Linked DNA regions of Homo sapiens: all the other regions are linked to region 4. The links are contacts of gene promoters, found by promoter capture Hi-C in human tissues and cell types (Jung and others, 2019). All regions are on one chromosome and are shown on one strand. Each heading gives the region's core, a stretch centred on a gene start or on the middle of the fragment in contact. The rest is flanking DNA. Distances are from core to core; before and after follow the strand shown.

Region 1 (5,905 bases), core at 2,466-4,965, 310 kb after region 4:
AGAGATTGGCAAGATGTAAATCTTTAAGACATGTGGCCCTTTAAATGAAAAGTAAAGTATGTTGCTTTCTTTTCACACCTCCAGGACAGTGAAAATGAGGTAACAGCCGAACTATTAATACATTTGGTGTTGTATTCCAGTGACAGATCTTTGTTCTCTACCTATGAGCTGAAATAAAGACATGTGAGATGTTATTATTGGAAATAGAAATACCCAAAGACTGTCATTGACCATGGAACAGCAGAGAAGCGATTGTAAAGATTTTAGAACTTGAAATTAGATTGAAAGAGACCTCCCAGCCAACAAGCAGCATACATCTAGCTCTAACATAGGCTATGTATGTTTCTTACTCCAAATTCACAACAGCTTTTTATAAAGCAGACCGACCCTGTTGCCTCCATTTAGCAGATGAAAATATTAAGATTCTAGCAAAGTTGAGAATAGAACCTTGGATTTTTAACTCAAAGAGGCTAGGGAGAGGGAAGGATTAGTTACTAAGTGCTTACTTTACATGCAAGGCCCTAAGGTTGGTGTTTTATCCATACCATTTTATGTAATGTAACATAAAACAAGTACCAGTATTTTCTCTTTTCATTTCAGTAAACTGAAGTCCAGAGAGGCAGAGAAACTTGTTCATAATTATACAGACCAGGAAGAAACAGGATTTGGACCCTAACTTACTTAATTCTGAATTTCCTGTCAGCCTTTTAGTTACCTCAGAAACAGGGTTATATACTTGGAGCTCCCACCTTTTGAGGCAATCAGTCCCTGCCTGGGGAACTTCCTAGATTCCTTATGTTAATTTTTTTAAGTGGCAGGTATATCCTAGCAAGGCCTGCTATTACATAATGTCATTAGCTTATCTTCTGTCATTGTTAACATTAACCCCTTCCAAGCTACCCTCCACAGTGGCTGTCAGAAAGATTTTTTAAAAATCCCAATATGACCACAGTGCCCCCCTACATTCCTTCTTGTCCTCAAGCTCCTTAGCTAAAGTTATACCCTAGTCTGGCATTCAAGGCTCTTTATAATCTAGGCCCAATTGGCCTTTCCACCCTTATCTCATGCTACTCTTCCCCCACATAGGCCACCCTTCCCCTATGCTTTAGCCAGATTAAGCCGCTTGGAAATTCCCAGAAAGAAGAGCTTATTCTTACCTTCAGCTTGCTTTTTTTGTACACTGTTCGCTCAACCTGGAGCACTCTTTTCCTGGCTGCCTAAATCCTACTTAACCTTTAAGACTCAGTTCAGAAGTTTTCTTTTCCAGAAAGGATTGCCTAATACCGTGGTCCTACTATAATTGCAAATCAGGGGTTCTTCTCTATGCCCCCCGTATTAAGTGTTCCATAAAGAGTGATGATAATATTAGTAGTAGTTGTTATTCTTAGTCAGGAGATACTACTTAAAGGATGCTTTTTATACTTAGTAAATGCTAGGTAAGTTCCTTCGACTACACAGGTGCTCTACTGACTGCCTTTGCAGGGAGAAACCATTGAGGTCAAAATTCTGATTAATGAAAAAAACCAAAAAACCTGTTCTGATTCTACAAATCAAATCTAAACTTAGGCTGGGAATACAAACTATTTTATTTAAAAATGGAAATACTCTGTCCCTCCCCTAGAATTTGTCAAAACCTTAAGATGCATCATCCTGGCAGGATGTTTGTAACTGAAGGACTAGTGAGCAGTGCTATCACCTTTTTCGAACATATTGAATGTATACAGTGTGTGTAGTATGTACGCAATGCCTTGGGGGCCCCAAAATATTGCTGCCTATGAAGGAGCCTGGAATAATAGAAAGAATTGTGTGCTTTGGATCCAGAAGGACCTGTGTTTTAATGTTGGATTCACTAATTACTGTCTTATGCTTTTGGCCAAGTAAACTCTCTTTTTGTGCTAAGACTTATATGAGTGTGCTTCTGACTGCCTTTCTTGACTTATCTTTCCTTCCAGCTATCAGAGAAGATGGCATGCCTGGAGGCCGGAATAAGAGCATTGGGCCAGTCCAGGTGAGTTCTAGACCTCAGTCTCTGTGGTCCGTCCTGGAAGCCCAGGGCTCCAGCTGTTCCTGAAACTGCTCACCTTGACTCTTTCATCTGCTGCTGAGGAGAGCCATCTTTGCTTTCATTTCTGTAAAAGTGCTTTTACATCCTGGATGTGAAAGTGCTTTGAAAATCTTAAATATGTAAGTTAATGATTAAAGCTCTTCCTGTGATCCCTCAGCCTTTCCTAAGGATTTCACAGACAGTGAACCCAGTTATGGTTCTGAACCATCCAGAGGACTTTTTGATCAGTCCTTAAGGTTATAGATAACTAAGCCTGGCAGAAATGAGCAAGACTACTTTGCTTTGTTCATTTCATCTAAAAAATATATCAGCAGAATATTATTGTCTTATTGTAGAGTAGGAATGATAATACCCCCATTCAATCCCACAAACATTTACTGAGTTCCTACTCTTCCAGGCCCTATACTGTGAACTCAGTCTAATGGGAGAAACAGATAGGTAAACAGACATCATAGTAAGGTGAGAGGTAACAGAGGATGCCCAGGGACTACAGAGGGAGGGGCATCTATTCTGCTTGGGCTAGAGCCGTGGTTGGGGACTAGAGACACTCAAGAAAATAGACTGTGAAGAGACCCAACGATGAATCTTTATGACAAGGAGTTTGTTCAATTAGGCTGCAACATTGGGCACATGTAGTAGAGTGGCAGAAGATAAGGCAGAATCCTTGAATTTGGAATCAGTTCATTAGGGAGTGGCCTTCAAGTCTTTGACTACAGCTCCTTAGGAAAAGTCTTTGTTGGGCCAGCCTGCACCACTTGTTCTTACCCGTTGTTCTTACTTGCCAGCAGAAGAGCTTCATGAGGGTAGAAAATTGGATATATCTCTGCCCATCAGGTGAATCCCTTGGCACATTAGTAGGCAGAGAGCATGCCTTAGGAATTACTAGTGGCCAGGAGCAGTGGCACACGCCTGTAATCCCAGCACTTTGGGTGGCTGAGGCAGGAAGATCGCTTGAGGCCAGGAGTTCAAGACGAGCCTGGGCGACATAGCAAGACAGACCCTGTCTCTACCAAAAAATCAAATAAAATTTTAAAAAACTATTATTGTTACTGGTATGAGCCAAGAGGCAACCACTAAAAGGTTTTATTTAGATTTGCATTTTAGGAAGATCATTCTAGCAGGTAGAAATGGTTTGTGAGGAGTGAGGTGAGGGTGAGTAAAACTGAGGGAGAGAGAAAGCAGTTAGAAGGTTTTCACAGAAGTACAGGCAAGAGATACAGATAATAGTTTGAAGCAGAGCAATGGCAGTGCAGATAGAGGGGAGAGAATAGACTCAAGAGATATTTACTGGGTAAATTTATAGGATTTAGCCAGTTAAATGTGAGGGAATGAAAGAAAGGTGTTCGGAGTTGTCTTAAGACATACACTGATGATGTTTGGGGGATTTCTTATCATATGAGCACAGCGTACATTCAATCAGGCTGTGTGATTCCCAACTCTGCTGTGTTTATTCTTTTTTTCTAAAACATTTTTATTCTCGTTATTCAAGTCATATATATGTCTTACAAATTCTTTTTGTTTCTTGGTCTGGACTAATAGCTGCTCTTTTTTATTATGGCAGAAGTAAAAACCATATAACATGAAATCTACCTTTTGAACAAAATTTTAATTATACAGTACAGTGTTGTTAACTATATACACACTCTGATACAGCAAATCTTTAGAACTTTTCCATCTTACATGACTGAAACACTATACTCATTAGACAGCAGTTCCTCATTTTCCTCTCCCTTTGCCCATGGCAGCCACCATTCCACTTTCTGCTTATAAGAGTTTGACTACTTTAGATACCTCATAAAGTGGAATCATGCAGTATTTGTGCTTCTGTGACTGGTTTATTGCACTTGGTGTAATGTCATCATGGTTCCCCCTTGGTATAGCTTATAACAGGACTTTCCTCTTTTTTAAGGTGTTTTATGTATATATCACATTTTCTTTATGCATTTCTCTGTCATCAGACACTTAAATTGTTTTCACTTCTTGACTATTTTGAATAATGCTGCAGTGAACGTGGGAGTGCAGATATCTCTTCACAATCCTGATTTCAGTTCTTTTGGATTAATACCCATAGATGGGATTGCTGGATCATATGGTGTTTCTATTTTTAACTTTTAGAGGAACCTCCATGCTGTTTTCCATAGTGGTTGCACCGTTTTACATTCCCACTAACAGTGCACAAGGGTTTCCATTTCTTCACATCCTTACCAGCACTTGTTATTTTCTGGACTGGTTTTTTGTTTGTTTGTTTGTTTGTTTTGGGGTTTTTTTGTTGTTGTTGTGTTCTTTTACATACAACAGACATAACAGGTGTGAGGTAATATCTTCAAGTTTTGATTTGTATTTTCCTGATGATAAGTGATATTGAGCATCTTTTTATATACCTATTGGTCATTTGTCTTCTTTGGAGAAATGTCTGTTCAAGTTTCTTGTTCATTTTTCAGTGGGTTTTGTTTTGTTTTTTTTCTGTTCCTGAGTTATGGGAGTTCCTTGTATGTTGTGGATGTTGACCCCTTATCAAATGTATGATAATATATTCTCCCATTTCATAGGTTATCTTTTTACCCTGTTGATTGTTTCCTTTGTTGCACAGAAGCTTTTTAGTTTAATGTAGTCACACTTGGCTGTTTTTGTTCTGTTGTCTGTACTTTTGGTGTTGTATCCAAGAAATCACTGGCAAGACCAGTTTTATGAAGATTTTCCCCTGTGTTTTCTCCAAGGAGTTTTATAGTTTTAGGTCTTACATTTAAATATTTAATCTATTTTGAGGTTGACTTCTGTGAACGGTATAAGGGGTCGATGTCTTTTGGGGGCTGGGGGCGGGGCATGTGGATGTAGTTTTCCCAGCACTATTTGTTGAAGAGAGTATCCAAAATGTGGTGGTAGAAAGCCTCACAAAGGACATGACATTTGGGGTTTTTTGTTTGGTTTTGTTTTGTCTTCTTTTAAGACAGGGTCTTGCTCTGTCACCCAGGCTGGGGTGGGTTAGTGCAATCATGGCTCACTACAGCCTCAATCTTCTGAGCTTAGGCCAGAATCTCCTGCCTCAGTCTCCAGAGTAGGTAGGACTACAGGCATGCACCACCAGGCCCAACTAATTTTTCTATTTTTTGTAGAGACGGGTTTCACCGTGTTGTCCAGGCTGGTCTTGAACTCCTGGAACTCCCAAAGTTTTGGGATTACAGGCATGAGCCACCATGCCTGGCAAGAGGTGACATTTGAATTGAATCTTAAAGGGCAAGTAGGAGATTGTCATTGAGGAGTGGTGTTTCAGGGTTAGGAAAGAATAGCCTCAAGGACAAAAAGGAGTTGAAAGAACCTTGAGGCTTCACGGCTTGAGAGTAGTGTAAATGAGCAGGAGGAAGGCCACGAAGGGCCATGGTGCCAGTAGGAAGGAAGCCACGCCGTCCTAAGATTAGTGAGAGGCCCGGAATATGGGGATGGAGGAGAGGGAACCTAGGTTTCTGGGAAATCCTATGAGATTTAAATAAGCTCTCAGTCCTGAAGAAAGAGCAAGTGTCCTGAGCACCCATCTAACATGTCTCAATTCCTTGTCAAAGATATCGGAAGAAGAAATCGAAAGGATCATGTCTGGGCAGGAGTTTGAGGAAGAGGCCAATCACTGGAGCAACCATGGTGATAGTGACCACAGTTCCCCTGGGAACAGGGCTTCGGAGAGCAACCAGCCCTCACCAGGCTCCACACTGTCTTCCAGGTGAGCTTTAAGGCAAACCCATGGTCATCATCTAGGGATCCCCCACCAAAGGGAGAGCTACAGAAAACCTCTGGCTGAGTATCCCTGCCAGGCTGTCTCAGCCATTGTACTGTTGCTCCCTCAGACTC
Region 2 (5,630 bases), core at 1,942-4,441, 260 kb after region 4:
TGGACTTGTCCTGTAATCTCTGTTTCTTCATGGCTGCAATAGAACTTTTCAGCAGACTACAAGAAGCATGAAATGGAGACATGGGAAGGTAAGGAACAGTCTGGGGCCCAAATCTAAGGGTTAGAAATTTTCTTTGAAGGTTTAGAGCAAATAGCCTTGAGGGAGAAGGGAGGCAGTCCACAGGCAACTGTTTTTTTTGTGTCTTCGCAGAGTTCAGCTAGAAAGTTTTCATGTATGTAGCAAGTGGCTGTAAATGTTTTGGAATGGAGAAAAGTGAGAGAGAACTGCAGTGAATTCATTGTTGTGGTTGATGAAGAGCAGAAGAAAGGGGATTAATTTAAATTTTATAGTGATTTTAAAAAAATTAAATATACGTGTCAGTACATAGATAAAATTTACATTAAAAATTGTTGTTTATTTCTTGACAGATGTTGTTTGTATTTTAAATTCCTTAATCCAGTTCGCTATCTGCCAAAGTCTTATTTACTACTGTTAATTATAGATAGAATTGGGGTCATGAGGCCATTGATAAGGCAACCTCATCCTCTGGTAGGGAGCTTCTATACTTTACAGTTTGGGATATAAGACTAAGCCATTGCTAATTTCTTTTTAAGTGGGTTGCTTTTTAAATGGGTACATTTTCTGCATGTGTGTGTATGTAATGAATAGTCACTAGTGTTATAACTTGTTTATTTGGGATAGTCTCCTAGTTATGTGAGAAACCCCACTTTTCCACAACTTTATTATTTAGGCCAGGAAAGACACATACAGCTGAAGGAACAGATAAAATGGATGAATGTTAGTATTAAAGTTTTGCCATGTTTATGAAGTACAAGCTAAGAGTTTGCAAGAGTTTGGTTTTCTTAAAGGCAAGCACTACTGAGAAGAGTTCCCGACTCTTTGAAGCAGTTGATAAATTTCTAGGACTGGCATTAACCCTACGAAATAGCTGGTCCTGGGAAAGCTTCCCAGCCTCTTGCAGCGTGGCTAACATCTGCCAAAGGCAGCTTTGCAGTTTCATTCTCACTCTGGGGATGCACAAACCAGGGAAGTGGGACCCCCTCTGATAATAGCATTCTTCTTTTTAGTAACCTTGGCTTCATTCCTCCCTTATATGTTGTACCCCAGCACCTTACATGCCAGAATTATTGGTTTTTAGTGCAAGTTAGCAGAAACAAGAGAAAGTTTGTAGAAAATACCAGTTATATATAAGGCCTGTTATTTATCTTGAACAGCCTCCTCCCCCAGTATGCATAGAAATTCTTTGTTAAACTATCCTGGATATACTAGCTTTTCCAGAAAGGAGTAGTTTAAGAAGTAAGATTTGCTTTGGATCTGTTGGACAGGAGTTTAGGAGCTGGCAGAGTCCCAGAGCAGTAATTACATGAGTTTAGAAGGGATGACTCTGGAGAATTTAGATTTTTTTTCGACGAGCTTGAGTCTCTTAGTGATATGTAGTCTGCTAGCTCTGAAAGAGAAAAAAGGTTTGCACAGAAAGTTCTCCCCTGGTTCATATTTAAGTTTTGAAACTTCAGTTCTTCTTAGTCATTCAACTGCAGAAAATAACTTACGGTACCAAAACAAGAACTTTCATAAAATAAGGAAATGAATTTAAAATTGTTCACCTAGATCTTTCATTGAAAATTCTAATAAAGCAAAATGAATGATCCCAGTTGTAGGAGGTTTTGGAATCTTAAGAGGCAAAATCAACTGCTTACAAAAGAGGTCAGTGAAAATGCTACTGTAAAAAAAGCATTGCCTGGTTTTAGATATTGGGCCCTTGTCCATTTAAATTAACCTTTGTCACAGCTGGGCATACAAATGTTTTGTTTTAGTTCACAGAGGGTTAACTCTATTCAAGCTTTCACTGTGGCAGGCCTGATCTGTGGAGTCATACAATCTGGTCTTTCAGCCCTGCCAGTCGCTAGGCAGGAAGTCTTATTTCTTAAGCTATCTTTCAGAATGGGGGTTGGGATTTGGAGAAAGGTGGGGGAAGGGCTTTGGAGCATCTGTAAGGATCAATAACAGAGAGAGAGAGAGAGCCGTAAGAGAGGCCATTGTGCACACTTCAAGATAGATGCAGCCCTTGTGCACAGCCCCTGCCTGGCAGGACAGACACCTAAAACCAAAACAATGACACCGAATGAATTCTCTGTGAAAATTAGATTGCCGCTTAAAGGAGAAAAATACTTGAGTGCCCTTTCAACGTTGGGGAATATTCTCATTCCTCAACTTGCAAAGATTAGGCAACCCCCACTAAAAATAACTCCAAATTGATTTTTAAATGCCTTTTGTCCTCATGCTAATACTGTATTGAATTGGAGAGGGTGATCATTTGGGTCTTGGTCACATGCATCAAAGCATTGAGTAAGTAATCTTTTTTCTTCTCTCTCTCCCCCTCTCTGCTCTCTTCCTCCCTCCCTTTTTCTCTTCTTTTTTATTCTAATGTTTGCTTTACCCTGTTGGTTTTGGAGGCATCATTAAGGGAATGAAAAAACTAAGATTTGGTTAGGATTTGAGTAACACATGTGCGAAATCCCTCCCCGAACAGCTGGTATTGGCTCTCGAAACTTCAACTGAGCTAAACAGATGTTCCTAGTGTGTTATTTTGAGATAATTTAAACCAGACTTATAGTCAAGAACTCTACAAAAATTGTAGATTTGATTTTTAAATGCACTAAAGTTGTGATATCGTGCCACATCTTAATACATGTTATATGGGTGTTAAGCAAAAACACCTGAGCTTGGGAAAGTGAGCAGTTCCGCCAATGAAATTGTGATATTTAAAACACTACCAAGTTTGTTATTCTTTTACTCCAGCCCAGATTTTCATTTTTCAGATTCCCCTTTCCCAAACCCTGTAACATTCCTGTTTTACTGTATCCTTTTCCAGAGGACTAAGGCATTAATTCATTAGGTACTTTCTTGATGCAAATTCTTTATGGCATTTGGAAAGAGTAATGGAGTCATTGCCACCTTTCTTCTACTAAACTTCCAAAGTACTGGTGACAACTGACTGGTAACAGCTGAGAAAAATGGAATCCTAAACAGCCTTAAATAGTCTTCTCCCAACTTGAAATCTTCCAGGAATAAATGCATAAATGAACTGGGGGTCCATAATGTGGCTTGCAGACAGACAAATGGAATAAGGGGAGGCGGGGAGACCTGCGCTTGAAATTAGCAAGTTTAGTTTATTCTAGGCTTCTTGAGTTGAAAACTGACATAATCTGGACAATTTTGAGGCTAGGAAAAATATCTGGATGCCTCACATCATCTGGATATTTTTAACCCATCTCTAATCGGTACCCTTTTGCTGGGGAAAATGATGTACAGGAAGAAAATCTGATTTAATCACCGCAAACAGTACCTCCTTGACACAATTGATTCTGCCCCTCTGATATATTGTAATTCTCCATTAATATTTAAACCAAAGAATCGATTATTTTAATGGACATTTTCCATGGACATACAAATATTACTAACAAAACTTGGAAATTCAGTTACCATTTCCGTTGTGTTAAAATGGGGTATGAAACCTACCATGACCCTTTTGAACAATGTGGTCTTTAATGTGTATTAGGGGGAGGGCCTAGTGAAGGAAAAGCCATAAAAGTCCTCAGGGTTCAAGATGAGGTTGGGATTTTGGCCCATTGCTTTTGTCATTTTCACACACAAACATCGCTGCAATCATGTTTGATTTAGCATCCTTAATACAATGAGGTGGGAGAACAAAAGGATATCAGAGGCACAAATATGGCAACCAAACAATCTCCCACCCCGCGACCACCAATTTTTTCACATCATTCGTTTTTTTCTGTTCCCCTGCTACTGGGGTTTCTTTTTAAGCCGAGGAAATTAATCTATTTGCAAGAATCTTCTTTTTGCATGCCTCAGTAGTTTGCTTGGGCAATTGAAAAGCTACATCTCAAATGGTTTTTAGCTGTGTGAAAAGTCATTTCCTAAAAACTTGGGGAAAACGCTATAATTAGGAAAAATGCATCTACCCATATTTCAAGGTTAAGAGTTGGTCAGGGTGTGTGGTGGGGGGTGGGGGAGGTGTTCACACTGCACAGCTGTTTTACATATTTTGAAAAGCCTGATAGATGTAAAGGTCATTGCTAACTCTAACAGGGTCTTGATGCTCACACTGTGATCCAAGGACCTTGCATTAATTAGGATGAGAAGCATGGAAGGTCAGGAGTCAACCGGCTGGTGAGCCTCGATGGATTGTTAGTGGGACCAATCAGAATTCCTGTAGGATTTTTAAACCATTAAAACAAAAAAACAAAAACTACTGCTGCTTCTGTTGCCTCTGGATGGATCCCTTGGTCTGTGTGGCAAGGACTCGTCCCCTGTTGCCCAGATGGCTCATAAAAACTTGGCTACGTATATGGCTTTGCTACAGGCTTCCTGGTGTTGGAGAAAGAACCTCATCAGCTTGACTCTGTCACTTGGCCAAGTCACTTGACCTCTATGAACCTCAATTTCCTTATATATGCAACAGAGGATAGTAATACCTATCTCACAGGACCGCTATGGGAATTAAATAAGAAAACTGTCAAGAGTGCCCAGAACATGCTTAATGTGGCTTGAATTGAAATGAGTTTCAAAGAGGAGCAAATTTAGGGAAATTAAGAAAAAGAGAATTCTTGGGTGAGCCTATGGCTGGTGGTGTTTATACTCTAAGGTCTCCAGGGAGTGCCTCCATTCGGTAAGCAACAATAAGGGAGGGGCTCTTTGGAAATTTAGCCTTGAAAATGCTGTACAACCAGTGGGGCCAGCTGCTGAGCCTTCTAGAACCAATTGCAGTGTTAATATGCTATTCCTGTGGTAGTGATAATTAGTCATGAATGGGTCCCTGCAAAATTTCTGGCCTTTTCTCTACAGAAAGTCTTTTACAGTTCTGTTGATTGGAAGAAAATGGAGAGGGGGATGGGCTTTAAGGTAACAGAGATGTTAAATCATAACCAGGAAAAGAAGGATAATAAAGTTAGTCTTAATTTCCTGTGTTTTGATAGATAAATAGATGCCAAGACAGTTGCCATGACCATGTTTGATAGCCCTTTCTCAGGAGCTTTACTGTGAAGTAGTGAAGTTGGGAATGTTGTTAGCATGCTAATCATTGCCTTACTAACTTTGGAGTTGTCAACCTCTCTGCCTTCTGGGTTCAGGGGTTATATCAATGGCTTGTTATTCTAATCTCTGTATATAAAATTATTATGCAGCTAACATTCATGAAGTATTTACTATTTTCTAAGCACTAGGAACAGAGGTGAGTTAGAATTCCTCACCTAAACTACAGATCTCCTTTTTGATCTACAAAGAAGGAAAAATAGTTTTAATGTTGCTTAACAGATGTTGAATATTCACCACTTAAAAAGTGGAGCTTTTGAGAGTGACTGGGGGAGAAGATGAGCTAGCAGTGGGATTTGCTCTCACTTTGGGGCCCTGTATTTCTTTGAGGGTTTTTGCTTTTTGGGTTTTTTTTTTAACTACTTTTGCTAGGTATTTCTTGTGACTTATTTGCTCTTCCAAATGTATGGCTGCAAAATAGAATATTTTAATATTTTTCTTAACATGGTAAAATTAGAGGCCTGAATTACAATTGGCAAAAATGTAGAGAGAGTCGA
Region 3 (5,536 bases), core at 1,953-4,452, 280 kb after region 4:
GATTTAATTTTTTATTTTTTATTTTTTTGAGACAGAGTCTCGATCTGTCACCCAGGCTGGAAGGCAGTGGTGTGATCTCGGCTCATTGAAACCTCTGCCTCCTGGGTTCAAACGATTCTCCTGTCTCAGCCTCCTGAGTAGCTGGGACTACAGGCGCGTGCCACCATGTCCAGCTAATTGTTTGTCTTTTAGTAGAGGCAGGGTTTCACCATGTTGCCCAGGCTGGTCTCGAACTCCTGAGCTCAGACAGTCTGCCCGCCTTAGCCTCCCAAAGTGCTAGGATTACAGGCATGAGCCACTGCGCCCGGCCAAAGCTCAGGTTTTAATCCAGGCAGTTTGACTTCACAGCCCACGCTCTTAATCACTATATACTGTACTAGGTTTTGATAGAGAAATTAGTGACCAGCCTGAGATCACAGGCCTAGCTTAATCCTCACCAATTTTGTATGAAGGTGGGGAGTACAGATGTGTAATACAGGCGGTAGGCTTCTTTTGATGTCCCAGAGCTAAGAGGGAAAGCCCATATTTCAATAGGCAGGAACATCACAGTGACTCAAGGCAATAAACAAGTCTGTGTTTCGTGCAAAGACCTAGCTTACCATTACAGGATGTGAATCAGCCAGCTTAGCAGTAGAAAATAAAAAGGACTGAGAGGTTTGAGTTACTATACACTCAGGACTGATCAATAATATTAACCCATTATCTTTTATGCAGTTGTAGAGTGTATACTTTATACCCGAAAGGTAATAAATTCTATTGCATTCATTTAAAACGTAGTATCCAAAAGGGAGTGGGAAGAATGATTTCCCTCTCTTTCCTGTACTCATCAAGCCACAGTAGATTCTGAGCATGATATTTTCATGTGGCATTTCCAAGCAAGAATATGTCCAGAGGAAAGGCAGATGGCCACCCACTGTGATGGGGAAATGATATATAAATCAGTTGTGGGACTAGGGGTATTAAACTCCAAAGGTTGTCAAACTCTTGGTGGAAAACGGGAGGGAGCAGGCTTGGGCAGGTTGCTCAGTGTTCACAGATTATATTAAGACCAGGATGTCTTCATTGCAGGGAATTATATTTTAGCATCAAATAAGGAAGTAAGCTCTTTATCACTGGAGATGTTCAAGCTCATGTAGGAAAGTTACTGTAAAAATGCAGTTATGAAATTAGATAAAGGAGTTAAATGACTCTGCTAAGGCTCCTTCAGTAATATTATAGTTAAGACTAAATTCTTACTCCTCATCTAATATTCTTTCTACTACCTCCTGCCTCTGATCAGAGTGGTATCTAGCAAGTGTGACATCTGGGAAGTATCTTGAAACTCTGAAACCAGTGTCATAATTTCTAATATGACAAACATATAGGTGCCATTCATTCATTCATACATATACCCATTCAACAGTATTTCTGAGCACCTACTTTGCTAAGTCTTAGGATATAAGAGTACGCAGGACATAGTCCCTGTCTTTGAAATTTATATTCCTGGTGGAGAGAAAAGGTTAATGTCTGCTTTTTTCATTCAGCAATAAAGAAACATTCCAGTGTCAGTACAAATATTCCAGTGTCAGTACATATTTACATATTGATGTTTTTAGCACAAAAGTAGTACATACTTGTGCTAAAGAGAAAATAGAGTAAAAATGTCCTCTTGTCTGTCCTCTGTGCCCTTCATTCTCCCTCTCTACCCTAATAATCACTGATAATAGTTTGGTAAATTTGCTTCCAAAGTTTTATCCATGTATATACCAAAGCATGCATGTGTATGTTCATATGTATATATGTTACGGCTTTAAAAAACAGTGGTTTTTGAGATGTGTCTTATCCTTTTTAAGTGATTGCTTATTCCATTGTATATGTATGTTAGTTTACTTAATCATTCTCCTCTCCTATAGATTAGTATTTAGGTTGCCCAACTTTTCACTATTACAATGTAGCGGCTGTATTTAAAAAGAACTCGGACATAAAAATGTGGAGGAAGATAATGAAGATAGGTGTCAGAAAGACATGCCCTATGAAATACTTTTAAAGGGAACACGAATGTTGGCTTCCTCAGTAAATAGTTACTGCATGAAAGAGAAAGCTTAGGGGACCATGTTGTTGTCTTCTGTGAAAGATTGTCCCATGGGGCCTCAGAGAGCGGAGTTAGGTCTAGTAGGCAGAAAGTTACAGGGTGAAAGATTTCAAGTTAGAATAAGGAAGAACTTAATAATAGTCCAAGCTGTTATGTAGTTGTGAGGTAGTGAATGCCTTACTTATGGAAGTATGCTAGTGTTCATTCCTTAGGTTGGAGTAGATGATCTCTTGATACCCCTTTAAGCACTGAAGCACTGAAATTTTACCCATGTAGGAGAAATTACAGCGTTCACAGCTCTCTTCAGACAAAAGAGCTGAGGGCTTCGTACTTTGCCCATTTACCATTTTCAGATGAATTACCCAGGGGGGATTCAGAGATGATTTTTCCTCCAAAGACTAGATCCTGTGAGCCTTCTTTTTTCCCACCCCATTGTCGCTGTGAAGATATTAGAAGTTGGCAGCTATTTTTAGTTATAAAAGTTTCAGCTTAATACAACTTTGAACCATGAACTGTTCAGAACAAGTAAATTGCAAAGACCATGAAGTCTCGTGTTGCACAGTTAATCTTCCTAATGCCAAAACCGTACTCAGTATCCTTCAGGCCTCACTTTAATGCTTTTTGATGCTCATTTTTTGGTTGGAAAAACAATTATTTCATAGTTTCCAATACCCAGGATTTCTGGTGACCTTTTCCTCAGACCTTGGAAAAGACCATCATCTCTGTCATGTCCACAGTGCTCTTCCTGTAGCTTCTTAGAGCTCCAGTTTGTCTATAGCTTGCCCTTACGAATTTCTAGAAAATTCACCTTGCCTGTTTTGCCTGTGGAAATGCTTCATTATAGAAGTACTGCTGACACCCAATTAATTTGCTGGAATTCCTTCCACTGACGTGTGCGAACATACCACAGATCTCCTCCACTAAGCTAAGCCCACTGTGGAGTCGAAAAGGGCAAGAAACCAGGTTTGATTCTCACTTTCTTCATGTGTTCTCAATTCGTATGACCTTGGGTAATCATTTCCCTGTGATTCAGTTTCCTCACTTGCAAAATGGAGGTTCTCTCATCAAACATATTGGAAAGAATAGTCTCTAGCAGTTGTTCCTACCTTTTTCTTGACATTTTGAAATCTACCTCCTTCCCTCCATGTTCTTGAAGTTGTCTTTAGATGATTAGTGACAAGATTAGTATGATTGCCATACCAGGCCATTATTGGAGCCTTGAGGCAAAAGGAAAATTCTAGTGATAGTCATCTGTTTAAAACTTTTTCTTGCATTAATTTTGTATTTTGATTTTTAAAGTTTGTATTAAAATATTTATATCGATTGAGTGTTTTGGCACCTGCCTAAATTTTGCACAGAGGCAGTAGTCCCAGCTCTGCCTTTTGCCTCGTCCCTCAGCCTGTTCTCAGTTCATAGCCTCAGTTTCTCCATACTGTTGACTGCTCTCTGTTTAGTACAGCTCTTTGTTTCCTTGACTTCCCTGGCATTGTACTGTCCATATTTTCCTTTGCTCCTAGGGTACCTTTTTTCTATCTCTTCTTGTTCTTCCTGATCTCTAAATATAGGCAGGCTTTCATTAAGGTCTGTCATAGTCAATTTTTTTTTTTTATGGTAAGTAAGAGAAACTCATCAAACTTAACTAGCTCAAGCCCTGAATGGAAGTTATTGGAAAGAAACTGGGTTAGAGCATGGAACACAGAGAAACATGGAAGAGTTGGGATTCAGGAGGGATGGCAGGAGTCATCAGGAGCCACAGGAACTACTCTCAGCCCCTCTGAAGCCATGAAGCATAGTACCTCTGCTTTACTTCATCCCCTAACCCTCATGATCACCACTACCACCTAGACAAATATCCTTTGCTTTTCAGGAACAAAGCCATCTCACTAGTCACCTCACAGCTCACTCTCATCCGAAGTTAGCAAGCCCTGTGAAATCTTGGCAATAGAGAGAATTGCATTAAACCAGTGCCTTTTTCCAGTCCCGTCAGCAGTGGCCATTATCTGTCCCTGGTCCAGTCAACTTGTCTAGCAGTGTAAACATAGTGCCCCACAGGCAGGGCAGTGGCTGCTCTCAAAGAAAAGATTGGTGTGGGCTGAGCAGACAGCCAGAAAGATATCTACTGCAGATTCCAGTCTCTCTTCATATCCTGTCCTCTGCAATCGCATCCATGCCCACAGCCTCCCTACAGAAGGACTCCTCAGGTCAATCTAACTCCAGAATTGCATGTTTGTGTTCATTGTGGCTCTCCTCATCTCCCACTACCTCAACTAACCCACTCCTAAGACACAGTTAAATACCCACAGCCAGCAAGCCCTTTTGTCTGTACTCTTCCCTCTGGCTGAAATTCTTTTTGACATACTTCTACTCTAAGGCTCAGTTCAGGTGATACCTCTTCTAGATAATCTTTCCTTCTGCCTCCCCATCTATCTCCAGAATGACTCATTCACTCTTCAGTGTCCACTACATCGTCTCTTGCTAGTTTAGTATTGACTGCTCTGTATTTAAATTATGGGATTGATGTCCATCTCCTCCACTGCCATGAGATACATAAAGGGCATAGAGGGGCTCTCAAATATTTATTCAGTGAGTAAATGTTGCAATGATTTGAGACAAGAAGTAAGAATTTTAAATAATCAATGTCTGCTTTATACTTCCAACTTCAAAAATACTTATTTGTTTAGATACAGTGCATGGATCCAAGCTATCTATGAATGAAATGCCTGTATATTTTTTCCACTGAGAACGATTTATATTTTTGCCTTAGATTCAAGCAACTGTTTCCCTGCCCCCCCACCCCCCACCAAGTAAACAAGGAATCCTTAAAAGTTTCCAGTGACATAAGACAAATAATAGATTTCTCCAACTAGAAAACCTAAGTTTGCTATGAAAATGAAAACCTTGTATTACAAATAACAGCTTAGTTTCTAATTCAGAGATCCCCACATAGAGGAGATAAGAAGGGAATTAAGGACTGTCTTCTGAATTTTTGTTTTCTTGCCCTCACCTACAGTTGAGAAGTCAGATGATGGAGTAGCCTTTTTCCTGGATTCATTTCAGTTCATTGTAGTTTGTTTCTAGGCCTACACAGTTAATGGCATCAGTAACATTTTCTTTTGTCTTTTTCTCATTTTTTCTTCTAGTGTAAACCAAAAAGTATCAAAGACAGGTCTCAATCAAGTTAGAAGTTTATTTTGCCAAGGTTTAAGGACACGCCTAGTAGACAGGTCTGTGCCTTTCTCCAAAGAGGGTTTTAGAATTGAAACGGGAAAAGCAGGCTGGAGGGGAAAGGGGAAAGGTATGGTCACATTACTGAATCCACATGTTGCAAGAGAAAAGGAGCAGCTAGGGGAATAGTCAATTATGTATTCATCTCAGTAAATCAGCACTTTACTTAAGATAAGGTGAACATAGAGTTGCTGCCCATGGAGATAGGTAACATTTTATCTGTAGCTATCTGCTTAGGAA
Region 4 (5,776 bases), core at 376-2,875:
CAAATACTGTGTGACTCCACTTAGAGGCACCCAGAGAGGTCAGATTCATCGAGACAAAAAGAAAAACAGTGGTTGTCAGGGGCTGGGAGGAGGGAGATTGGGGACTTGTTTAGTGGGGACAGAGGTTCAGTTCTGCAAGAGGAAGAGCTCTGGAGATTGGTGTCACGACAATGTGAAGGTACTGGATTCTCTGAACTGTACACTTAAAAATGGACACAACAAAGCCGGTGCAGTGGCTCACGCCTTTAATCCCAGCACTTTGGGAGGCCGAGGTGGGTGGATCACGAGGTCAGGAGTTCAAGACCAGCCTGGCCAAGATGGTGAAACCCCGTCTCTACTAAAGATACAAAAAAATTAGCTGGGTGTGGTAGCAGGTGTCTATAATTCCAGCTACTCGAGAGGCTGAGGCAGAGAATTGCTTGAACCCAGGAGGCGGGGGTTGCAGTGAGCCGAGGTTGTCCAGCCTGGGTGACAGAGAGCGACTCTGTCACACACAAAAAAGGATGCAACAGTAAGTATTACTGTGTTACATTACAGTTGTTTTTGTATGTATGTGTGTGTGTGTGTGTGTTTTTAAAGAAGGCTGAGTCCAGGCCTGTTAGAGTCTAAGCCCCAGCACCCAGATATCTCGTCCCATCTCCCAACCTGCCCAGCCCTGCCTTGCACCCGTGCCCAGCTCATCGGAGGTCACTGCAGTCAGCTCTGCAGCATGCCAGACCCTTGTGCCTCGGTCTTCCCGGCCAGGTGTGGGAGCCCCACCTGTGTGGCCACCCAGCCTCCACAGCAGCTGCCCACTCCGGGTCTCCCAGCCATACACGCAGCCATCTTCTGAGCCTGTGAGCAGCATCTGGCCATCAGGGGAGAAGGCAGAAGAGTTGACCTAGAAACAGCACAAAAGCGGTCCCATTCTGGGGAAGAAACCCCTGTCCGCTCATCTCTGACCCCTAAACACTGCCCCCCAAGAGCCTGGGGTTGGAGCTTGACTTCAAGCCTCACTCCACCACCAGAGCCCAGAACCCGGGACCCACTGGGCCCTCTCTCGAGTCCCGTAAAGCCAGAGCCTGCAGTTGGAGGCAAGAGCCTTCTCTGGAACCAGAGCCTGGAACCCCAGAGCTAAGAGCCCATTCCAGAGCCGCAGCTGACAACGGAGAGTCCAGAATCTACTCTAAGTTCTGAGTTCACTTTAGAGCCAGGGCCCCAGAAAACACCAGAGTCAGCAGGGAGCTTTGTGCCCCTCTCGAGGCAGAGCCCAGAGCCCGGGGCTCTTTTTACAGGCAGAGCTTAGAACCTAGAGCTGCTCTGGAGCTGGGGCCCGGCACTGGAGCTGAGAACCTACTTCGATCCTTCTTGGGTTAGCAAAGTCTACTCTGGACTCAATGTCCTGAGCCACTGCCCAGAGAACATTCTGGAACCCCCACTACACAGAACCAGGAACCACTCTGCATCCAAAGCCGGGAGTCTGGGCAGAGCCCGCTGGACCTCACCTCCCCGCCGTGCTGGCCGAAGAATTTCACTCTCCGCACGGCCAGCGTGGCCGGGACCCCGCTGTTCATGGGCACCCGGCCCCGCCCCGCCCCGGCGGGCTCCCTCCTAGGCGGCCGCGGGACCCCAGGACTGGGCAGAGGAAAGAGGAAACTGTGTACAGGCGGTCTCCATGGTAATCGGGGCGGGGCGTGCGGCCATGGTGGGGTCCCTGCGAAGCCACGAGGACTGACAGGCAGGCCAGACCGCTTGCAGTTCGGCGGAGGTGGAGCCGCAGCAGGCGGGACCGCGGCGGGCTGGGAGAAGGGACTTCCCGCGCCAGCGGCTGCGCGTCCACTCTAGGGCAGCTCTCGCGCGGGGCAACACGGCAGGCAGAGCGGCCACTAGAGGGCGCGCCAGCCACACGCACCGCGCGGCCCAGAGCCCGGCCCCGCGCCCTGCGGACTGCGAACTGCAAGGGGTCCCTGCACCTCTTTGATACAGGGGAGCAACGAGCCTGTCTCCCCATCTGCACAACCGGGAGCATCAGCCCTGCCCCACAGGACTCCAGGGGTGAGCCAAGCACAGGGCCTGGCACACGGTAGATGCCCAAGAGGGCCCCCTCAGGAGCCAATACCCCTTCCGTCCAGGAGTGGCCAGTACTGAGGTTAAGGATGTCCCAGGAGAGCGCTGGGGACAGTAGCCAGCTCTGTCCTCCAGGGCGTGGAAGCCAGAGGTAGTGTGTGTAAAGTACATGGCATTAAAAGTGGGGTCACGTTGCTGTTAACATTCCTGGCAGCACAAAATGTGCCATCTGAGGATGGGGTGGAGGCTGGGGCTGGGGGGCAGTTGCCCAGGAGCTGCCAGGATCCTTACCGGATAGCGCAATCTGAAGCTTGGAACGAGCAGGACTTGGTTTCATTGTTAATTTACAGGTGAAGAAACTCACCCGGAGAGCTGGGAGGACTTGCTCAGAGCCACTCAGCCAGTAGGAGTGGAACTGGGATTTCAGCCCATGGCTGTCTGACTCTGGGTGTCTGTACTGGGACCACCTGCCATGAACTCCAGGGACCTCTCAGCAGATGTTGAGGTCCGCAACTCCTGGTACATCTGGGAAACTGAGGTCCGAAGGGGGCAGGACTTGGCCCAGCCATCTAGCCGGTGCTTCCATGGCAGAGCTGGGGCAGGACCCAGTCTCCCCACTCCCACAGCAGGACAGGGAGGGAACAGAGGACCCCCCACCTGCCCCGCCCATGGATTCTAGGCTCCCTGGGGGCAGGGGTGGAGCAGCTGGGCTTTGGGAGCTTCAAACTCAAGAGTTCCCAGCGGCGACTCACACCCTCCCCCCCTAAACCTCTTTGCCAGAAACTTCTCAGGAGATCCGCTGTGCTCCTGCTATTTTAAGTCCCAGACAGTCAGGCGGGTGAGGGAGCGACAATGACAGCTTTGAGGCAGTCCCACTCCATCCCAGATCCCAGAGGGCCTAGGTCACTGTGGGACCCTTCTGAGCTGGGCCTATAAAGCTGTCCCCCCACACCCAGATGTGGCTCCCAGACACAGCTCCCCAGAGCTACTATTCCCTGGCCCTCTGGCTCTCCTGCTCAGGCACCCCCCCAACCCATGCCCCGGCCCTGGGCACATTGTCTAGCCACTTGGTTGCTCCTGCTCTATCCAGAGGGCCCAGAGCCACCTTCCCCAGCCCAGCCCTTCACTCCCAGAACCCTCAGGGTAGACCTTGTCCACCAGGCCCAGTGACTGCTTGGCCGAAGGGGTGGAGCTGGGGTCGAAACCCGTGGGCTTGGCTCAGGCATCTGTAGGTGGAACCACCAACGTGAATGCCAGGGTCCGGAGGATCATCTCCGCGGATGAAGTGGTGGAGAAGTTTCTGCCAGTTTTCCACCACTGACTATCTCTTCCTTCTCCTCAGGGAGCCTGCCGCCTTCTCTCCTGTATTTGGCCAGGCTGTCCAGGGAGAGGGCTCTACCAAGATGTCCAGGATGGATGCCGCGCTGGCTTTTCTCACTGTCACTCCATTCCCTGAAGGGGACTGGAGGTCCTGGACCAGCCTTGCCTCTCCTCAGCTACGCATGTCAACCTTAAAACACCCCACAGGGCCAGGCATGGTGTTTCATGCCAGCAATCCTAGCTCTTTGGGAGACCAAAGCAGGCAGATCATTTGAGGCCAGGAGTTCAAGACCAGCTTGGGCAAGATGGTGAAACCCCATCTCTACTAAAAACAAAACAACAACGACAACAAACCTCACAAACATCTGTTCAGCAAAAAAAAAGAAAGAAAGAAAGAAAACAATCAAGGCAGGCAAAAAAGAACCCTCTATTTATTTGGATAAGAAAAGCAAGCAAAACCCCCAAATCTCCAGAGTGGTCAACTCTCAGGAGAGGAAGGGAGGGACTAGAAAAGGCAGGACCCTTGGGGTTTTGAGGAGCCACATTCCAGCTCTAAGCTGGGCAGGGGCCCCAGGTATCTGTTGAATTGTTCTTAAAGAATCGGCCCCGCCTGTCTGGCCCCTGCCTGCCTGTCCTTACTCTTCCTGGCTTCCTTGCCCTGCCCCATTTCTTATACCCTACCTGCAGTCCTACCCCAAGTCTGGAACAGTTTAGTGGGGAGCCAGCATTTCCTGACCGGTGCCCCAAGAAGCAGAGAATGTTGTTTTGTGGCAAGAGAGGAAGTAGGAGAGGGAGTTGGAGAGCCTAATTGCCCTGGTTTCTTCGAGGTTCCAGCTCCCAGCTCCAATACCTGAGCTGCTCCTCCTGCCCTCTAGGTTTTTTTTTTTTCTAAGATGGAGTCTCTGTCTCCCGGGCTGGCTGGAGTGCAGTGGCGCGATCTGGGCTCACTGCAACCTCTGCTTCCTGGGTTTAGGCAATTCTCCTGCCTCAGCCTCCCGAGTAGCTGGGATTACAGGCACCTGCCACCATGCCCAGCTAATTTTTGTATTTTTAGTAGAGATGGGGTTTCACCATGTTGGCCAGGCTGGTCTCAAACTCCTGACCTCGTGATCCACCCACCTCGGCCTCCCAAAGTGCTGGGATTATAGGCATGAGCCACCGCGCCGTGCCTGCCCTCCAGGTTTTAAAACATACCTGTTCCCAGCCAGATGCAGTGGCTCACCCCTGTAATCCCAGCACTTTGGGAGGCCGAGGCAGGCAGATCACGAGGTCAGGAGTTCGAGACCAGCCTGGCCAACATGGTGAAACCCTGTCTACTAAAAATACAAAATTTAGCCGGACACGTGATCCGCCTGCCTTGGCCTCCCAAAGTGCTGGGATTACAGGCGTGAGCCACCGCACCTGGCCTGTCATTATCCCTCTTAAAAAGTGTGTGGACCAGAACTAGAACCATGCTCACTGTTTGGACTGACAACCACCAAGCTGAAAGGTACTGTCATCTCCAGTTTCCTAGACACTCCATCTCTAGTAATGCAGTCTGCATTACTAGAGGCATTTATGTTTCCAAGAGCTATGTTATTCACTGCAAATGCACGAGAGCTTTTTCCCATGAACTGCTGTCCAGCCAGCCCTCCCTCCCCTGTCTGGTACTCACACAATGAGTTCTTCGGAAACGCACGCAAGACCTTACATTATGCTGGTTAAAGGTCATCTTCTTGGCCCCCATCCAGCCGTCTAGTCTTGAAAGCATTTTAAAAGTCCCACTTCTATTGCACAAAGCATTAATTCTGCTGCTGTGGCAGCTGCAAATTTTATGAGCGGGCCTGTGTTCTGGTCCAGATTGGGGAAATGATCAACATGACAGGGGTAAGAACAGAGCCACGGCCGAGCGTGGTGGCTCACGCCTGTAATCCCAGAACTTTGGGAGGCCGAGGCGGGTACATCACCTGAGGTCAGGAGTTCGAGACCAGCCTGGCCAACATGGTGAAACCCTGTCTGTACTAAAAATACAAAACTTAGCCGGGCATGGTGGCATGTGCCTGTCATCCCAGCTACTCGGGAGGCTGAGGCAGGAGAATTGCTTGAACCTGGGAGGCAGAGGTTGCAGTGAGCTGAGATGGCGCCACTGCACTCCAGCCTGGATGATGAGAGCGAAATTCCATCTCAAAAGCAAACAAACAAACAAAAAACAGAGCCCTTTGGTCTATCACTAGAGACCTCCAGTGATTATCTTTTTTGCCTCCATCCATCAGAGTCATGGGCTAACCATGGGGTCAGGGAGGGTACAGTCCCTTAGGAAAGGTCCGGGTGGGGAGGAAAGTAATTTAGATTCTTTTTTTTTTTTTTTTTTGAGACAGAGTTTTGCTCTTGTTGCCCAAGTTGGAGTGCAATGGTGCAATCTCGGCTCACT
Region 5 (5,903 bases), core at 3,389-5,888, 480 kb after region 4:
TATTCCTTTAATTCTTTAACACTTTCTTATTCCTGTAATTCTTTAACAAGACTGGGAAAGACATCTTATTCCAGGTGAGCAGAGGTGTGGGCTGCTTGGGCTGTTTCTTTTCTCTGATGAGGTCTTGTGAAGACGGCAGAAAGCCAAGCAAGTGTCAGACAAGGTGTGTAAAGCTCTTTGGCAGCTCTGTGATTGGAGGGAACCCAGGAACAGAAAAGTTTAAGGAAGTCAGAGATAGAGATGTTAGTAAATGTAATAAAATCACTTGGCTGTGGAAGGTCATTTTTTTCTTTTAATTCTAGATTTTTTTTTTCATTTTTAAACTGCCCTCCACCCTAAATAGCTTGTGATTGTTATATTCCCTTAAAATTTTCAAATATTATTTACAAGAGAGCTGTTTTACAGGAGAGCTGTTTTCTCCATATAGCTGATGTACAGACAGCACAGCCCTCTTCAGATTTAGTAATGAGACCAAGAAGTCTTTAAATATTGGTGAATGGCATTTGTCCATTTGAGGTGAATCATGAATAACTTGAACAAAAATAAAAAAAATAAGCAAGACTATCATATTTGAATAATGAGGTGCTCTTTTTTTCCCAACTGCCAAAACTTTTTAATCTTTGTCAACGATTGTTCTGTCCTCCGTCTTATTTAGGTTGCATCTGTGCGACTCTGAGCTCAGGAGCCCTGACAAGCGGCATATGAATTCTGTATTCATTAGTGATCTTGATCCAAATGCCTCTGTCCCTGCCACGGGGGCTCAGGTGTGGAAGCTGCTGGCTAATCCCACCAGCTGACATTCAGAGGTTTAATGACTCCATAGGAAGGTGACCACTCGCTGGGAGGTTTGCTGGCGGAACCCACACAGCAGACAGTGGAGATCAAGGAAGACTATCCGTGTTTAGCCGAAGCACCTTCCTGTGCAACTTGAACCCTGTTGGCATCAAACACAGAGTTTTAAGTAAATGCAAAATTAAACCAAAAAAACCTCGACCTTCGATAACTATTATAAACAATGATTTTCTTATCTGTTTTGATGGTGTTTCAGGCTGTTTTTCTTATGGCGCTTTAATAGGTGTCAGCTTAATGAGCTGAACTTGACTCACTTCTCCAGATTTTTAGGTTTTAAGGTTATATTTGGTTGTTACATCTGTTTCGGTATCTCGTTTGTCTGGGGGGAAAAATGTGTATTTAGACCCCAAATTATTTTCTCATTAAATGCTTTTAAGGATTTATGCTAGGCCAGGCGCCGTGGCTCATGCCTGTAATCCCAGCATGCTGGGAGGCCAAGACGGGCGGATCGGTTGAGTTCAGGAGTTTGAGACCAGCCTGGGCAACATGACGAAACCCTGTCTCTACAAAAAAAACAGAAAAAATTAGCCGGGTATGGTGGTACATCCCTGTAGTCTCAGCTACTCAGGAGGCTGAGGCGAGAGAGGATCGCTTGAGCCAGGGCAGTCAAGGCTGCAGTGAGTTGTGCCATTGCACTTCAGCCTGGGGCGACAGAGTGAGACCCTGTCTCAGAAAGAAAAAAAGGATAAGGATTTATGCTGGTATTTTTGTTTATTGTGATCCATAGCTTTTTTTTTTTCTTTTGAGATGGAGTCTCACTCTGTTGGCCTACAACCTCCACTTCCTGGGTTCAAGTGATTCTCCTGGCTCAGCCTCCTAAGTAGCTGGGATTACAGGTGTGCGCCACCATGCCCGGCTGATTTTTGTATTTTTAGTAGAGATGGTGTTTCGCCATATTGGCCAGGCTGGTCTCGAACTCCTGACTTCAGGTGATCTGCCGCCTCAGCCTCCTAAAGTGCTGGGATTACGGGCATGAGCCACCGTGCCTGGCCAATCCCTAGCTTTTATTTATTTATTTATATTTTTTAGAGATGGGATCTTGCTGTGTTGCTAAGACTGGAGTGCAGTGGCACACTTAAAACTCACTGTAGCCTTGAATGCCTGGGTTCAAGGGATCCTCCTGCCTGAGCCTCCCAAGTAGCTGGAATACAGGAGGGTGCTACCGTGCTCAGCTAATTAAAAAAAAATTTTTAGATAAGCGGTCTCACTATGCTGTCCAGGCTAGTCTTGAACTCCTGGCCTCCAGTGATCTGACTGTCTCAGCCTCCTCAGTAGCTGAAATTACAGGCACAAGCCATGGTACTGGTGTCTTAGCTTTAAAAAAAATTAATATTAAAGTGTGAGTTTATTGATTGACTTGTAACTAATCAGATGTTTTGACTACTTTTTTAGGTCTACTGTTCTAAAAGTGTGGGATACCTAGTTCTATTACTATGTAATAACAGCTTCATTGATAATTCACACCTATGCAGTTCACCTGTTCTAACTGTGTAGTTCAGTGGTTTTTAGTGTATTCACAGAGATGTACAGCTATTACCACAGTCAATCTTAGGACATTTCCAGCACCTTAAAAAAATAATAACTCCATTCTTATTGGCCATCACTCCCCATTTTCCCCCAACCTTCCCAGCCCTGGGCAATAACTAATCCACTATCTCTGTACACTTGCCTATTCTGGACATTTCATGTAAATGTAATCATATAATATGTGGTCTTTTGTGCCTAGCTTCTTTCACTTTGTGTAATATTTCACCCGTGTTGTAGCATATATCAGTATTTTATTTCTTTTTGATGGTCAAATAGTATTCTGTTGTATGGACATACCACATTTTACTTATTCATTAGTTGGACATTTGGATTGTTTTCACTATTTGACTATATTTATAATGCTGCTGTGAGCATTGGTGTACAAGTTTTTGTATGGACATATGTTATGATTTCTCTTGGGAAGAGAAATTCTAGGAGCAAGATTGCCAGGTCATATAGTTACTCTATGTTTAACCTTTTGTGGAACTACCAGAGTTTTCCAAAGCGTCTGTGCCACTAGCAGTGTGTGAAGGTTTCGATTTCTATATGTCCTCCTTTCCATATATCCTTCCATATATCCTCTATCCTTGATTGTCACCAAGACTTATCATCCTTTGGATTGTAGTCATCCTGGTGGGTGTGTGTGACTTGGTATCTTATTGTGGTTTTGATGGATTTTTTGTTAAGAACTAGTGCAACTATGGAAACGTTTAGATGGGACAATTGAAACATTTGACGTGCTTCCTTTATACACTGGATTTGTGCCGTAATTGGGTTGATGATTGTACATTTGTTTAAATATTGAAAGGGCCTTTTCAGAGGCTCCCCCTGAGGCTATTTCTGTCATTTGCTTTTGGTCGTAATTCCTGCTTATTGGCTTTCCTTAAGACCTGAAGCATTAGACATAATAAATTGTCTTTATTATTGGATCAAAAGATGTATCAGTTTTCCCCAATAATTTTCTCTCTGGCTTTATTTAGCATAAAACGTTAGGTTTTAGAGATGTCTGAACCCTAACATACAATCCCTGGGGTCCTGTATGGAATTATTCTAAGTAGTGATTTCTAATAGTGCTATTAACCAGTTAATTTTAGAAGTGAACAGTTACTGAAGTTGGCATTTATGGTTCAGTGGGTGATTCGGAAAATCACCCATTATGTCTTTAGAATAGATGATGATGAGAAACTCTGTTGAAGGTGAAAGGTTCCCACCAGCACCAGATATTTTGAGTTGTCCCCCTTTTAAGAAGTGAGCTTGCTCTGTGCATTGGAGACCACTGGTGGCCAGCTTTGGAGAGGTAGGAAGGGACTTCTTGAGTTAAGGCTGCCCTCTTCAGTCTTCTTGCTTTTTGAATTTTGTGGCATCTTACAGAGCAGATATAAATTTTATGCGGTCTTTCACCTGATTCAAGAGCAGGACTTTGCTTCCTACCATACAGGGTTTGGAATTTTAGAAGTAATTGCTTCTTTCTTTCTTGATTCTCTAGGATTCGTTAGTCTTCCTGGACTTAGAAGTGGCCACTGAATGTGTATTCTTCTGTTCAAGTCTGTGTCTTCCTCATCTCTCTATCTTTAGAACCCCAGTTAATGGTGGTGGCTGGTCCTCATTTCTACCCTTGCCATTGCATTCTGCCTTTATTAAAAGTCAAAGTTGAAAGTGGCATATTTTGGGGAAGGGTTGAAGGAAATTTTAGAAAGTGTGACTTACTCCCATTTAATTTCAGGAAATAAAAGGGGGTTAGATGGAAGGAAACAGAGAAGGAAAGGCATAGTTTACCAAAAATCTCCGTAAGCTTGGAATGGATCCTTCTTGGGGCCAGGTCTCTGGAATTCAAGAATCAACAAATCTTAGGAAAGTGACTATATACATTTTGAAGGTCTCTATTTCCAGTTCTTAGAGGAGTAATGAAAGGATATCAACAAATGGTATATTGGCTTTGTTATTGACTTTGTTGATTTTTCTCCCAAAAATATTTCTGAAAATTCTGTCATGTCTTCTGCCCTGCTGTGTAAACACCCAATTTCATATTCTCATATAACCAGTATGTCATCAGCAGAATGTCATCAGGTTCCAAGTGATTACCAGCTGTTAGGCTTGGTGCTGTAATGCAGAGGCAGTACTGAGAGAGGCTGTTGTGTATGGTGGTGGGAATTCCTTGTGCAGCTATTGGCAAAGTAGATAGAAAAGAAGGGATAGGTATTCTATTGTAGTTGATAGGTAATTATTTATGATGCATTTCTTTGGAGCAGGTGTTCCATTTGTAATATGCAATGTTTTTGCTTTACATATTTCCTAGAACAAAAGCAGTGTTTTTGTAAAAAGCAATGTTTTTGCTTTACATATTTCCTAGAACTGAAATGTAGGGGGACATACACCATATAGGAGAAATATTTCACGAAGTATGTTGTCTGCTGGCACCTGTGGCAAAAGTCCAGCAAGCAAAAAACTTCTGGTCTTGTGACCAGAGACGAATCAGAGAGAGAGGTGAGAGCTAGATTCAGAGATAGTGTTGAATTCGTAAGTGTTTGGAGACTTTTAACTGTATAGGTGGAATTGAAAGGAAGATATTGCTAATGAAATGTTCTGTGTCGTGATATCAAAGAGAAAATGGGACTTCACCGCTCTCTTCAAATTGAATTGCCTTTGCTAACTTGGGTCTCAGGTACATAATAAGCACTAAAAATCCTTCCTTTATCTAGGTTGTCTTTTTTCGGTTACTTGAGCCAAGCCAAGATTTAGAATGGGAAGATTTTCATTGGGAAAAGAAATAAAAGATACTCTTTTGTTATTCACTGACTTTATTTCATTTTAGAATTCTATTTGGTAAAAATTTGGAATCATAACCACTTATTGAACAGTGGCTTTCAGGGGGAGAGGAGGAAACCAGCACGAATTTCACCATCAAAAGTGAGGCTCTGTTAGAAATCCAAGAGGTCGTCTGTGGTTAGAGTTTCGCAAGCTCTTGGAACAATGGATTTCCACTTTCTTGTATATGGGTTAAAGAAATACAAGAAATGAAATATAGGACCGAGTGTTACTGGTTTGTAGCTTAGAATCTTATAAGTTTTGCCTTGGCAGGTAATTTGGCATAAATTGTTAATGTAAATCTGGTTTAGTGGTGAAGACATTATTTTAGTAAAAAAGATAAACTGCTGATTAATTCAGCATAGAACTCAATTACAAATTGAAAGTGTCTCTGCGGGACTCCCGGACCCTAAAGACAGCAGATGTTGAATTGATAATCCAGCATATTTCACAGCGGTATGAAATATTCACATGGTTTATTGTACTTGTGTGGTGTGCGATATCAGAAAGGGGGGTGGTGGGTTCATGGGTGTGCAAGACAGTCACACACTGCACATTTGCTAATATACACGGAAGCATGATGAAGAATTTTAGCAAAGATTTTTCTTCTTTTTATTAGCTCTGTGGAAAATTAAGTTTAAAATAATATTTGGGGCCAAATATTTAAATGTAGTACCTGTGTAGGTTTGCATGATATATGTAAATTAACCTAAACTATA

What was found. The method cuts DNA at HindIII sites, captures the fragments that hold promoters and counts their contacts. A contact is called where the count stands out against the background at its distance.
Region 1: a contact is called between a fragment that was not itself captured here and the fragment with the promoter of WDR38 in region 4, in 1 of the 25 tissues and cell types used here (dorsolateral prefrontal cortex).
Region 2: a contact is called between a fragment that was not itself captured here and the fragment with the promoter of WDR38 in region 4, in 2 of the 25 tissues and cell types used here (dorsolateral prefrontal cortex and mesenchymal stem cells).
Region 3: a contact is called between a fragment that was not itself captured here and the fragment with the promoter of WDR38 in region 4, in 1 of the 25 tissues and cell types used here (H1 embryonic stem cells).
Region 5: a contact is called between a fragment that was not itself captured here and the fragment with the promoter of WDR38 in region 4, in 1 of the 25 tissues and cell types used here (dorsolateral prefrontal cortex).

Annotation. Positions count from the first base shown.
Region 1 is chr9:124,539,905-124,545,809 of GRCh38, reverse strand. NR6A1 (nuclear receptor subfamily 6 group A member 1) reads left to right here. Exons shown (of 10, transcript NM_033334.4): 4 at 1,953-2,008; 5 at 5,623-5,777. Among named protein-coding and RNA genes, the nearest start is that of NR5A1, 35 kb to the right of the region's middle. The HindIII fragment of the contact is 3,536 bases long and covers 1,948-5,483 here.
Region 2 is chr9:124,590,207-124,595,836 of GRCh38, reverse strand. The region is part of intron 2 of NR6A1 (nuclear receptor subfamily 6 group A member 1); the gene reads left to right. Among named protein-coding and RNA genes, the nearest start is that of MIR181A2HG, 65 kb to the left of the region's middle. The HindIII fragment of the contact is 3,555 bases long and covers 1,414-4,968 here.
Region 3 is chr9:124,570,066-124,575,601 of GRCh38, reverse strand. The region is part of intron 2 of NR6A1 (nuclear receptor subfamily 6 group A member 1); the gene reads left to right. Among named protein-coding and RNA genes, the nearest start is that of NR5A1, 65 kb to the right of the region's middle. RefSeq lists an enhancer at 1-1,125. The HindIII fragment of the contact is 4,997 bases long and covers 704-5,536 here.
Region 4 is chr9:124,849,309-124,855,084 of GRCh38, reverse strand. It overlaps WDR38 (WD repeat domain 38), which reads right to left and starts at 1,625. Exons shown (of 9, transcript NM_001045476.3): 1 at 1,485-1,625; 2 at 760-880. The coding sequence starts at 1,553. RefSeq lists a silencer at 1,524-1,573. The HindIII fragment of the contact is 15,289 bases long and covers 1-5,776 here.
Region 5 is chr9:124,370,801-124,376,703 of GRCh38, reverse strand. The region is part of intron 6 of PSMB7 (proteasome 20S subunit beta 7); the gene reads left to right. It overlaps LOC124902267 (a long non-coding RNA gene), which reads left to right. Exons shown (of 2, transcript XR_007061764.1): 2 at 1-1,033. Among named protein-coding and RNA genes, the nearest start is that of PSMB7, 42 kb to the left of the region's middle. The HindIII fragment of the contact is 6,367 bases long and covers 1,455-5,903 here.